2 separate regions of the Homo sapiens genome follow, and region 1 is linked to region 2. The links are contacts of gene promoters, found by promoter capture Hi-C in blood cells and fetal thymus (Javierre and others, 2016). All regions are on one chromosome and are shown on one strand. Each heading gives the region's core, a stretch centred on a gene start or on the middle of the fragment in contact. The rest is flanking DNA. Distances are from core to core; before and after follow the strand shown.

Region 1 (5,538 bases), core at 1,825-4,324, 2.5 Mb after region 2:
TAACCAAGCACCACACAACTCAGCATATGTAACCAAGCACCACACAACTCAGCATATGTAACCAAGCACCACACAACTCAGCACATGTAACCAAGCCGCACACAACTCAGCATATGTAACCAAGCAGCACACCACTCAGCATATATAACCAAGCACCACACAACTCTTTCTGCACATCCTGACAATATTACTGTGCTGAGAAATAAATTTTGCAACTTACTGAAATGTCCAATTCTACCAGCAGAGTGGTTTTTATGGCATCATTCGTAGTAAGTTGAACTGCCTTTGAAATTGGCACTTGAAAAACTGGATCTGCTGAAGTCACAGATACTTGGCTTTCCTCCTTGAAAAACAAATGTGACAAAACGTAAGTGCAATTTTCAATTATACCCTTCTTTCAATTAGTGACTACGCAAGATCCACAGGGGCTTACAAAACTTCCTGGCTACTCAGTATTCATTTCCAAGGTAAATGAATGAGGGCAGATATATGGAGCTAGCTTTTCAGAAGAGAAGCTCAATTCTATCTCAAACGCTTTATCTATTAGACATTAGAATTTCTGAAATACAAATAGAAAATAAAAATACTGGCATGTTCATGTAAAGATCTAGTAGTTTTCCTAATAAACTACGTCAAGGGAAACAGAATGTCTGCAAATGTTTCAGGAAGGAGAGATCTTGAAGAATGTGACAGATGTTTAAGAATGCAACATGTGTGTAGATGGTCACAGGAACCCCCTAGTGTGGGGCAATGCTGTTCATATGGCTGCTGAAATATGGCTGGTGAAATACAGGTAGTGTCACTAAGAAACTAATTATTAATCTTAACAAATGTTCATTAATTTAAATTTGAGTAGCTATATGTGGCCAGCAGCTCCTGTACTGGACACAGTAGGTCTTGGAAAACTGCAAAAAATCCCAGTTCTTTATAATACTCCCTACTCCTTTTCTATATTCCTAAGTTTAAAAACAAAATATTTTAACAGTACTAGTCAATTAACTGTGGATAAGTGGCTATATGGGAAAGCTGGGATGAAGGTCAGTTCTGGGTGTCTGGGAGCCATAATGTGGGGGTACTGAGATGTACCCCTAAGAAGACTGCCTTCTGCAAAGGCTATGGCAGTGCTGACAATGACTACCTCTGCCACCTGAAAGAAACACTTCAGCATTCTTAGGTCACACCTTACCCCTGCCCACACCTCCTTTCAGAGGCAACCCACATCCAATGTCTCATCAAAGACTACAAAGGTCCAGCCTCTTCGTTCCAACTCAGGACAACTCTGAAGACCCACCAGCTCCAGAGAACCCTGTGGGATTGGCTGAGGCCTTTGCTGAGACTGCACAGCAGCTCAGCTTCTCACTGTGCCCAATCCTGCTTCCATCCCTCCATGCCCAAAGATGATGCTGTCAAGAGGATGCCCTAAAAACATCTCATTGTTTGACTCCTGGGAACCAGCCTGTGACAGTCAGTGCCAGGGTAGCCTGGGAAAGATGCTAAAATGGAGTCTAGAGCTGGATCATCTGCCTGTTTGACAATGAGAACACCACACCAGTGAGAGAGCAGACAGACGGCACTGGCACACAGCAACAATGCAACCGTAAGTAGCAGGGAGTGCCAGTGGAAGCAAATGCATCACCTTGCAAGATCCATCAGGTGCTTGAGAACTAGAGAGAAACAGCAGAAGAGAAGACTGGTGGGACTTGGGGGGCTACTGCTAAAATTCACTCGCACTTGAAAAAAAATGCAAAAAGCTTAAAGGACAAATCACCAATTAAGAACTAAGTAAAACTAAAATAGAACTAAGCCAGGGGACATCCTCAGGAGCTTAGAAAGACACAGTCATCTCATGCAGCCCATGACAGTGAAGGCAGAGAAAGCCAAGGACTAACTGGGAAAAAAAATCTTGAATACTCAGATTCCCTTAAAAATCTTGACTACCCAGAACGCCTTAAAAATCTTGACTACCCAGATTCCCTTAAAAATCTTCCTACCCAGATTCCCTTGAACTCTTTGAGCCTGCAGATGTGGCCAGTCCCTCCCATGAAGAGTAAGAACTCCCTTCTCGCATCTGGATGGTGTAAGGACCTCTGCCCACAGCACATGCCTGTACCCCCACTACCACACCCCATCCCCTCTTCTGGTTGCTAGACCAATAACTGGGGTTGTTGCGACACACTCGGCCACTAAAGCACTGGGCTAGCTAAGGAAGGTAAGGGACTAACCCCTAAGAAAGTATACGACAGAGCACTATGCCCCCACAGGAGCTAGGAGAGAATGCACACAACACAGCTGAGGTCCTAAATTGAGGAGGGCAGAACACAGATGTAAAAAATGGGCAGCCCACAAAGGCACTGGATCAATCCTTACAATGAAAAGAAATCAAGGAGGCATGTAAAAGGAGCTGTAGGCCGCTGCTCCAATAAAAACGATCCTTTGCCCTGTTTCCAGACCTGCAACCCACTGACTGTAGGAGAGAAGAGGTCCCTAGGAGGAGGGACTGTGAGACACTATAGAAACTGTACTTGACAATGGCTTCTGCAGTCCTTCTCCCAAAGGGGAAATGTACACTGGGCTAAGGGGAATGTGCAAACATTCCAGGGTCTGTTAAGAGGGGGTTCAAATGAATGTTGTTACCCAGGGACCCAAAGCATCAGCATAGCTCATCTATGACAGCAAGGCACATGGGGGCCAGGCGGTAAATGGCGTCCTGGCCCAGGACCTCCAGTGGCCACTCAGCAGCTGGCACAGGGCAACACCGAATTATTGGCCTATGACGTTAAGATCTATCATCATGGGGAGGGCCAAGAAGAAGTCTCTGAATTTGACGCCATCCTCCTCCCTAAACACCAAGATAGAACAAGAGAAACAAAATAGCATCCTGAGAGAAATGACATCCTTAAAAAGCTGGAGGACACAGGGGATGGTCTCTATCGTATCTCCATTTAATTCACCAGTTTGACCACTGCAAAAACCACATAAATCCTGGGGGATGACACTGAACTACTGGAAACTCAAACAAGAAACAGGTCCACTGTAACCTCCGTGCAAGCTGGTTTTCCTTAACAAAGTAGACTAGCATGGCCTCAGGTACACGGACAATGATTTAGTCAAAGTGCTCCTTCCCAACCCTATCACTAAAGAGGATCAGAAACAGTTCACTTTGCGCTGGAACAATGTATAAATTTACAATTATGCCCCAGGGCTATCATAAGTCCTGCCTGCTGTTATAAGAGTCTGAATAAATGTGGAACACCTGCAAAGCACCACACTAGCCTACTCTATCAGGGGCATCGTGCTATCAGACTGAATGAGCAACGAGGAGTAGCCAGGACAGTGCGGTCTTTGGTAAGACCCATGCCCTATGCAATTAAAGGGCCTGCAGTGCCAGCACAATTTTTAGGGTTCTAACAGTTTGGTGCACGTCAGGACATCCCCTCCCAAGTGAAGGCCACACTAGTGCACCTTGTACCTCACTTCTAGAGAGAAGCAGAACCACTGCTAAGTCTCTTCAGGATCTGTGGGTAGCACATTCCATACCTGGGAGGACTGCTGAGACCCAAATACCAGGTGACAGAAAAGGCCACCAGCTTTGCGTGGGGCCCAGAGCAGGAGAGGGCTCTACAGCAGATCCAAGTGACAGTGCTCGTTAACAGGTCCTGCCGCTCTACCACACAACCCAGAAGACCCTCTGGTTATTAGAGGTAATACTTCCACATGGCAGAAAGGTACCATATGGAGAGGAGCTGACTGAGGCCTTTGTTGAGACTGCATCGCAGCTCAGCTTCTCACTGTGCCCAATCCTGCTTCCAACCCCTCTGTGCCTCAAGGCAATGGTCCCAAGAGGATGCCCTACAAAACATTCTTTTTTTCCCAATTCTTTACTCTCTCAGTATATTATTTCATATTTATATTGTCTCTCTTAAGTACTTCAGATTTGTTAAATCTTTTAACTACATTATTAACAACTCAAGCCTATTTAATGACACTTTCTATTAAGAAAAAACCCAGAAACTTTTTTTTTTTTTTTTTTTTTTTGAGACGGAGTCTTACTCTGTCGCTCAGGCTGGAGTGCAGTGGCGCAATCTTGGCTCACTGCAACCTCCGCCTCCCGGAAAAAACCCATAAACTCTTAACAGATCTTCCGGCTAATTTAAAACTCCTAGTCAGATTAATGATTAATCTCTATCCCCGCTGCCATGAACTGATCCTGTCTGTGGTGCAACACTGCACTCTGCTCCCACCAGTCCAGGCATAAGTTGTGTCTGTTCCCAAACCAGACTGAGATACACTTACTGCAATTATCTCACTTAAACAATTCACAAAATAATGAAGTACAAGTGCAAAAACAATAGCCCATAGTTGTTTATACACAAAATCATACTTACATGAAAGCTTTAGAAAGACATTATAAAAGATGCTAAAAAAAATTGCTATCATACCAGGTGTTTACAAACAGTGCTAATATACAAGAAAGATGCTGCATCCAAATTATTTCTTAAATGTCTAAATCTGTCTTCATTAAAAAAAACAAGAAATTAAAACTGGTAATAGCTGCAGTAAGGGTGTGGTTTTTGTAAGAAAAGTCCATGTGGAACTCCAAACAGCCACTCAACAGAAAGAGGGCTTAGCCCTGCATTCAAAGACTGCCTGCTCTGGAAACTTATTTTAAGCAGGTTAGAAAAACTTCAGGGTACCATACACTGCCTGTGGGGAGAAATTAGCTATTATGCAATGTGATACTCAACTCACTGCCCACACAACTCATCTCTGTTTGACTCATCTAAAATGAGAAACCAAGTTGTTAGTTCTCCAAAATAATGATGAAACTGAGTTCTTATCTACTTCTTCAAATACAGAAGTAATAATACAAGACCTTTTGTAATACCTGGGTGGGAAAACTTTTACTGGAAGGGGCCAAATGCCTTAGGCATTGCAGGCCCCTGTGGTAACCACTAACTCTGCTATTGCAGCTCAAAAGCTGTCATAGACACTACCTAAATGAATAGGCATGGCTGTGTTCCAGTAAAATCTATTTACAAAAGAAAGGCTCTGGGCCACATTGGGCCAGTAAGCCATAGTTTGTTGACCTCTCTTCTAATGTAATAATAATTTAAAAGCCCAAAGCAAACATCCATGATTAAATAGCATCTATAGCATAAAGAAAAACTTCCTTACCTGGCCAAGAGACTCCTGCAGATGTACCTGTAAATATTCTGGGGGTAAACCAGGAATATTCAGAGAGGCTTGTGAGAGTGGGGGTACCGAACGGGTAAGTGAGGACTCAAAGTCTTCAATTACAACATTGGATTGGTTGCTGTTCACTGCATTTTGCTTCAAAACCTCAGAATCCTTTCTTCCTGAATCATCGAATCTCAGAAGCTCGACTTGAGATTCAATGTGTAGCAGCTCTGACTTCACAAGGTCTGTCCTCGAGGATGCAGGTGATGCCACCGGGAGTGCGCCACTTATCTCCTCTTGTCCTCTGCTTGACCTAAAATGCTTTCTGAGGGCTGGCCAGAGTCCAGCAATCCACGGCTC
Region 2 (5,643 bases), core at 721-3,220:
GTAAAGCACATACTACACGTTGAGTCTTCAGCACATGTTATTTTAACAGGCAACAGTGTTCAATAAATAAATGTTATGTATACCTTATCCTGATTATAATTTTACAAGAGAAAAAATATATTTAAGCACTAGAAGTACAGTGAAAATATTTCATGATTCCATACGTGCTTCGAGCGCAATTCCTGAATTACCACAGATTACTGTCACACCATAAAAGTATGCAAGTAGCAATGCCCAGGCCAAAAGAATGAGAATTGAATGTAATACGTCCGTACCTATCCTGTGATAAATACATGCCTTACTAGATTTACTCATTAAAACCTGAATCTAAAAGGATGTGAAACCTATGTAGATGGAAATTTACACGCAAGGACCACCTGTCAAAAAGAAATAGTTCGCAACCTTCAGCAGTTTCGCTTTACTATTTTTTCCAAAGGCGTCTCCAGTGGCGATTAGCTACACTCAGTGTATATAATAAACACACTGTGGCATAATGAAAGGGAAATTACTTGCAATCAGAATGCCTAGGTTCAAATCTGCCTCTTACTACCTGTGTAAAGCTTCGACAAGCTATTAAAATAACGAAGCCTACATTTCCACATCTATAAAAGATAATACCTACCTATTCCACAGGCTTTTTACGAAGATGGAACGCGAATGTACATCAAGTGCCACATGTTATAGTTGAGGTATTTATTAAAGGCAAGACTTCTTTAAAAAAAAATAAGTCGTTATCAACTCATTACATAGATAATATCAAACTTTTTTCACTCATTATTGCACTCCATGACGGCGTTTGATAATTCATTTTCGTTTAAAATCGCCAAAATCGCAACCCATAAGGTTGAAAGACGCTCATACCCCCATAAATATACCTAAAGTAGAAAAGCATTTGCACGATAACCGGAACATCAAAAAAAGCAAAATTTAGTAATTTCCTCTATAAACTCACCACTCATTTAAAAACACAGCTGGTTAAAAATAATCTACTACCTTCAGTGGGTAAGAAAATGCGTTTGAAGAGACATAAGGTGTGGACGTTTATATCTTAAGTATTCATTTTACAAGGGTCAGTTTGTTCAATGTAACCGTATCCAAAACACAAGCAATCGCAAAACAAAACAAACAGAACCCTGCTTATAGGTGTCAAGGATTTAAAACCAAATGGATCGCAACAAAAGAGCCTCCCCGTTTAGTAAACAGATTCTCGAGCGGCAGGCAAGCCGAGGACCAGGCTTTTCAACAGGGGTCAGCTCACTCCACTCGGCCGTCATCTGGCGGGGTATTTTTCGCGAAGTTTCAAAGTCAACAAAGAAGTTCTGTCGCGAGGGGGTAGGGCCTGGCGAGCAATAGGCAGAAGGACGTAAAGAAAGACAAAACCCAGTGGGGGAAGGGTGCGGAAAACGCCCCCGGACGGCAGCGACAGAGGCCCCCTTTTCTGGGCCAGCGCGCGACGGCGGGGACAAGGGAGGCCACGCCGGCCTGCAGTAGCCCCGAGGCCCCGACCCCGGCCCCGGCCCCTGCCCGGCAGGGTCCCCGCCCCCCTCGGCGGCGCGGGCGGGAAACGGCGGGGGGCGCGCAGAGGGTCACCTTCCGCTCCCCGGCCCAGAGGCCCAGCGGGTGGACAAACGGCCCAGGCGTCCGCCCCGCCGCGATCCAGCAGCCCACCTCGAGCGCCGCGGACCTGGCCGGGGTACGAACCCGGGCGCCGACGCAAGGGCTCGGGCGCCGCGCGTCGCCGACTTACCTTCCTCCGCGGTGTCCATCTTGTCTGGGGGGGCGGCGGTGACGCAGCCACGAGGCTCCCGCGGCCGGGCGGGGAAAGAGGGAGGGGAGAGGAGGAGGGAGCCGGGCCCGGGCAGGTGCGTACGCTCAGGTGCGAGAGAGGAAGCGAGAGGAAGGAGAGGGGAGAGGGAGAGGGAGAGAGGCTGACAGAAAGCGAGCGACACGGGAGGGGGAGGGGCGGGAACACCTAGGGGCGAGGCCTGGGCGGGGCGCCGAGGCGGAAGGGGCGGGAGCTCCCCAACGACAGGCGCTGTCACTTCCGGCGGCCGCGGCGTGCACTGTCGGTCGGCGGCTAAGGAGGGGAGGCACCTGCATCTGGGGCGCGGCGAATCCTCGCGTGCGCCAGGCCGCCTGGGGTAGTCGCCGAGACTGCGCCGGCCAGCGGGGCCGAAACCTAATCAGGAGCTGAGCTTTGATGGCGGCTTCTGGAGGGACAAAGAAGGCGCAGAGCGGTGGGAGGAGGCTGCGAGAACCTAGCTCCCGCCCCAGCCGACGTGCGAGACAAAGGCCCCGGCGCGGGGCTCTTCGGAAGGCCGGGAGGTTCCTGTGACAATGCGAGTCTGCGCCCCACGCTCCCGCACCGTGATGCCGAGGCCAAATGGCTAGAGTGGGCCCAGGCATCAGCATTTCTGTTTGGCAGCCGGGCAGTTGTGGTGCACGTTTTGAGGAACTACTAAAGCCTGCCTGTGATGAAAAAGGCAAAAGCTGACTTCACCAAAATTACTCCCAGGGAGACTTCTGCATTTGGCTGGAAGGACATTTGAGTAAACCGCTGAGGCTGGTGGTTGAAACATAATCCTCTAAGGGAGATCGGTTCCGATACCCTGAGTTAGGGACGCTTGCCTGGGCAGAGCTAAGGGGAGAATGATCAAAAGCCAAGCTCTGTCCCCGTCAGCACGTCACCCTCCCTCACTGTAATCCCTGACTGTTTTCTCTAAATGAAGAATTATTTAGAGAATATAAATTAGAAGGGCCGCCACGTCAGAATTGCCTGAGTGGGAGCAGTCTTTCCAGCCTCGAAAAATGTTTAAACAATATGCAGATGACCTAGCACAAATAAAGAATGCTAGCAACCGCTGTTATGTGTGAGCGGTGGAATTGGGAGGGCTCTTCCCCCAATCTTCATCAAACAGAGTAAGGTTTAGAATAAAAATAATGAAATACAGTCTTTCAAAAAGAGCAGCGCTTGACTAATGTTACTGATGTCACTCATGTTACTCAAGGGAGGAAAGAACTCAAACTCTACATAATAATACCCACTGATTTCAAGGGCTGGCACGGAGAATTAAGCAGACCGCCATTCTTTATATTTGTTTTTTTGTTGTTGTTTGCTTATGATTTTTTTCTTTCTTTTTTTTTTTTTTTTTTTGAGAAGGGGTCTCGCACTGTCACCCAGGCAGGAATGCAGTGGCGCGATAATGGCTCACTGCAATCTCACTATATTGACCAGTATGATTTTCAACTCCTGTCTTTAAGCGATCCTCACGCTTCGGCCTCCCAAAGTGCTGGGGTTACAGACATGTGCCACTATGCCCTGCCTAAATATGTTTATATATACTACCGCCAAAGAAACAATTTGAAGACGATCTTTCCCCAGCCCCTCTCCTTCTGATCCAACTCCAAGAGCTCACCCTCCCTGTAAGACCTGTAGCAGAGCACGTATTGGCCTGCTGATACTAGGGGCAAAGACCGGGCCGATCAGATGTTACATGGCATAAGGGCGAAGGATTCTGAAAGAAAGACTGAGACTTGCTGGAGGAAGTACTAGTAGTGCCAAGGGCAGGTATGTGACCCTCGGAGCTGCAGAGCCAGGTTAGGATGAAGGGAATGTGTGTGTATGGGGGGCGTGGAGGAAGCCTTCCTTTTGTATTTAGGTGCCTTCCCTTGTGATGTTCAAAGGAAAGTTAACCTGTCAACCAGTTTTCCCTTCTGCATAGTAATTCCTTCTGGAATTGCCCTAACCTTTTCGCATTCAGACTTTAGGCGTTAAATATAAGAGTAATAAACCAACATTTGTTGAGTCCCCACTGTGAGTCAGGCACAAGTTCTCACAACAGCCCTTTGAATACATGAATCAGTCACACCTCTCTTGGTTGCCATTGACAGGAACTCAACTGTTAGGCAGAAGGGAGGAATGTACTGTTGATATGGACAGACTCCAAGAAGGGGAGGGACTGCTGGGACTACTAGAACGAGAATGCCTCTGCCCCTATGGCTCAGCTCTGCAACTCTCTCTGCACATTGGCTTCATGCTGTTAGACCAGCTTCCTCCATATGTCTGGAAACAAGGCCACTGACAGCTCCCAACATTTCATCTTCTGCCTCATCATCAGACAGGCGAGGTAAGGATGATGATCTCTAGTCCCAAGTTAAAAATTCTCAGGGAAGGCTAGTTCATTGGTCCAGCTAGTTGCCTGTCCGTGAATCAAATGATTGTGCCAAAGATCTAGGATCTTTAAGAACATGGACATTGTCATGTTCTTGTAACTGCCATTTCAGGTAAGAACAATGTACACTACCTTGTGGAAGTAGAGAAAGACCGTTTCCCACAAGAAGGGGGAGGACCAAACAATAGATATCCATTACAATTAGAATTCTCATTGTCCAATCAAGAAAAATACTTTTTTTTTTTTTGAAACATTGTTACCGAGGCTGGAGTGCAGTGGCATGATCTTGGCTCATTGCAACAGTCCACCACCCTGGCTTAAGTGATCCTCCCACCTCAGCTTCCCGAGTATCAAGTAGCTGGGACTACAGGCATATGACGCCCAGCTAATTTTTGTGGTTTGTTTTTTTGTTTGTTTGTTTTTGGTATAGATGGGGTTTCACCATGTTGCCCAGGCTGGTCTTGAACTCCTGGGCTCAAGCAATCCGCCCACCATGGCCGCCCAAAGTGCTGGGATTGCAGGTGTGAGCCACTGTGCCTGGCCAAGAAAGATCCTTTATTAAAGACATAGTATACCCATGATTCCAGCCTCGTGTGTGTGTGTGTGTGTGTGTGTGTGTGTGTGTGTACTGTGCTGCGAGAATGCTATAGCAATGCTGGCTTTCCATACCCCAATAAGCAATGAGTAAGAGGGGAAGTGTAGGGGGACACAGTGTAACTGTAACAAACTAACAATGACAACTAACCAAACTCCTTATTATGTCCAATGAACATCCATAGCAATCCTGTGAAGTAAATATTACACACTTTTTTTTTTTTTTGAGACAGAGTCTTGCTGTGTTGCCCAGGCTGGAGTGCAGTGGCGTGATCTCAGCTCATTGCAACCTCTGCCTCCTGGGTTCTAGCAATTCTCTGCCTCAGCCTCCTGAGTAGCTGGGATTACAGGTGCCCACCACCATGCTTGGCTAATTTTTGTATTTTTAGTAGAGATGGGGTTTCACTATCTTGGCCAGGCTGGTCTTGAACTCCTAACCTCGTGATCCACCCGCCTCGGCCTCCCAAAGTGCTGGGATTACAGGCATGAGCCACTGCACCCAGTCCAATTTTTTAAAAAATATATTCTTGGGACAGTTGAAATTGAAAAATTGAAACTTATATAGATTCTGTGAACGGTCTTGTAGCGATGTTAACTTCTTGATTTGGAAGATCCTTGTTTGGGGAAATACCCACTATAGCATTTAGGGGTAACGTGGACTCAGGTCTGAAGCTTGTTCCCAAATGGTTCAGAAAAAGACTAATTGTGTGTGGGGTCAGGGCAGAGTTAACATTGGCGAATCTGGGTGACGACAATGTGGAGATTGTCTTGCACTCTACTTGGAACTTTTCTGTGAGTTTGAAATCATTCTAAAATCATTTTTTAATTAAAATTACTAGGTACTGATAGAACTCTAAAGCAATAGTTATCAAATTTG

What was found. The method cuts DNA at HindIII sites, captures the fragments that hold promoters and counts their contacts. A CHiCAGO score of 5 or more calls a contact.
Region 1: a fragment that was not itself captured here is called in contact with the fragment with the promoter of MARCHF6 in region 2 in 12 of 17 cell types (total CD8 T cells, total CD4 T cells, activated CD4 T cells and 9 more); the score reaches 11.2 in total CD8 T cells.

The regions. Positions count from the first base shown.
Region 1 is chr5:7,877,960-7,883,497 of GRCh38, reverse strand. It overlaps MTRR (5-methyltetrahydrofolate-homocysteine methyltransferase reductase), which reads right to left. Exons shown (of 15, transcript NM_002454.3): 5 at 5,176-5,538; 6 at 221-343. Among named protein-coding and RNA genes, the nearest start is that of MTRR, 12 kb to the right of the region's middle. The HindIII fragment of the contact is 2,641 bases long and covers 1,754-4,394 here.
Region 2 is chr5:10,350,022-10,355,664 of GRCh38, reverse strand. MARCHF6 (membrane associated ring-CH-type finger 6) reads right to left here and starts at 1,970. Exons shown (of 26, transcript NM_005885.4): 1 at 1,748-1,970. The coding sequence starts at 1,766. MARCHF6-DT (MARCHF6 divergent transcript) reads left to right here and starts at 1,608. Exons shown (of 3, transcript NR_183261.1): 1 at 1,608-1,693; 2 at 3,892-4,127. RefSeq lists enhancers at 734-1,305, 2,152-2,411 and silencers at 1,362-1,831, 1,872-2,011. The HindIII fragment of the contact is 4,878 bases long and covers 563-5,440 here.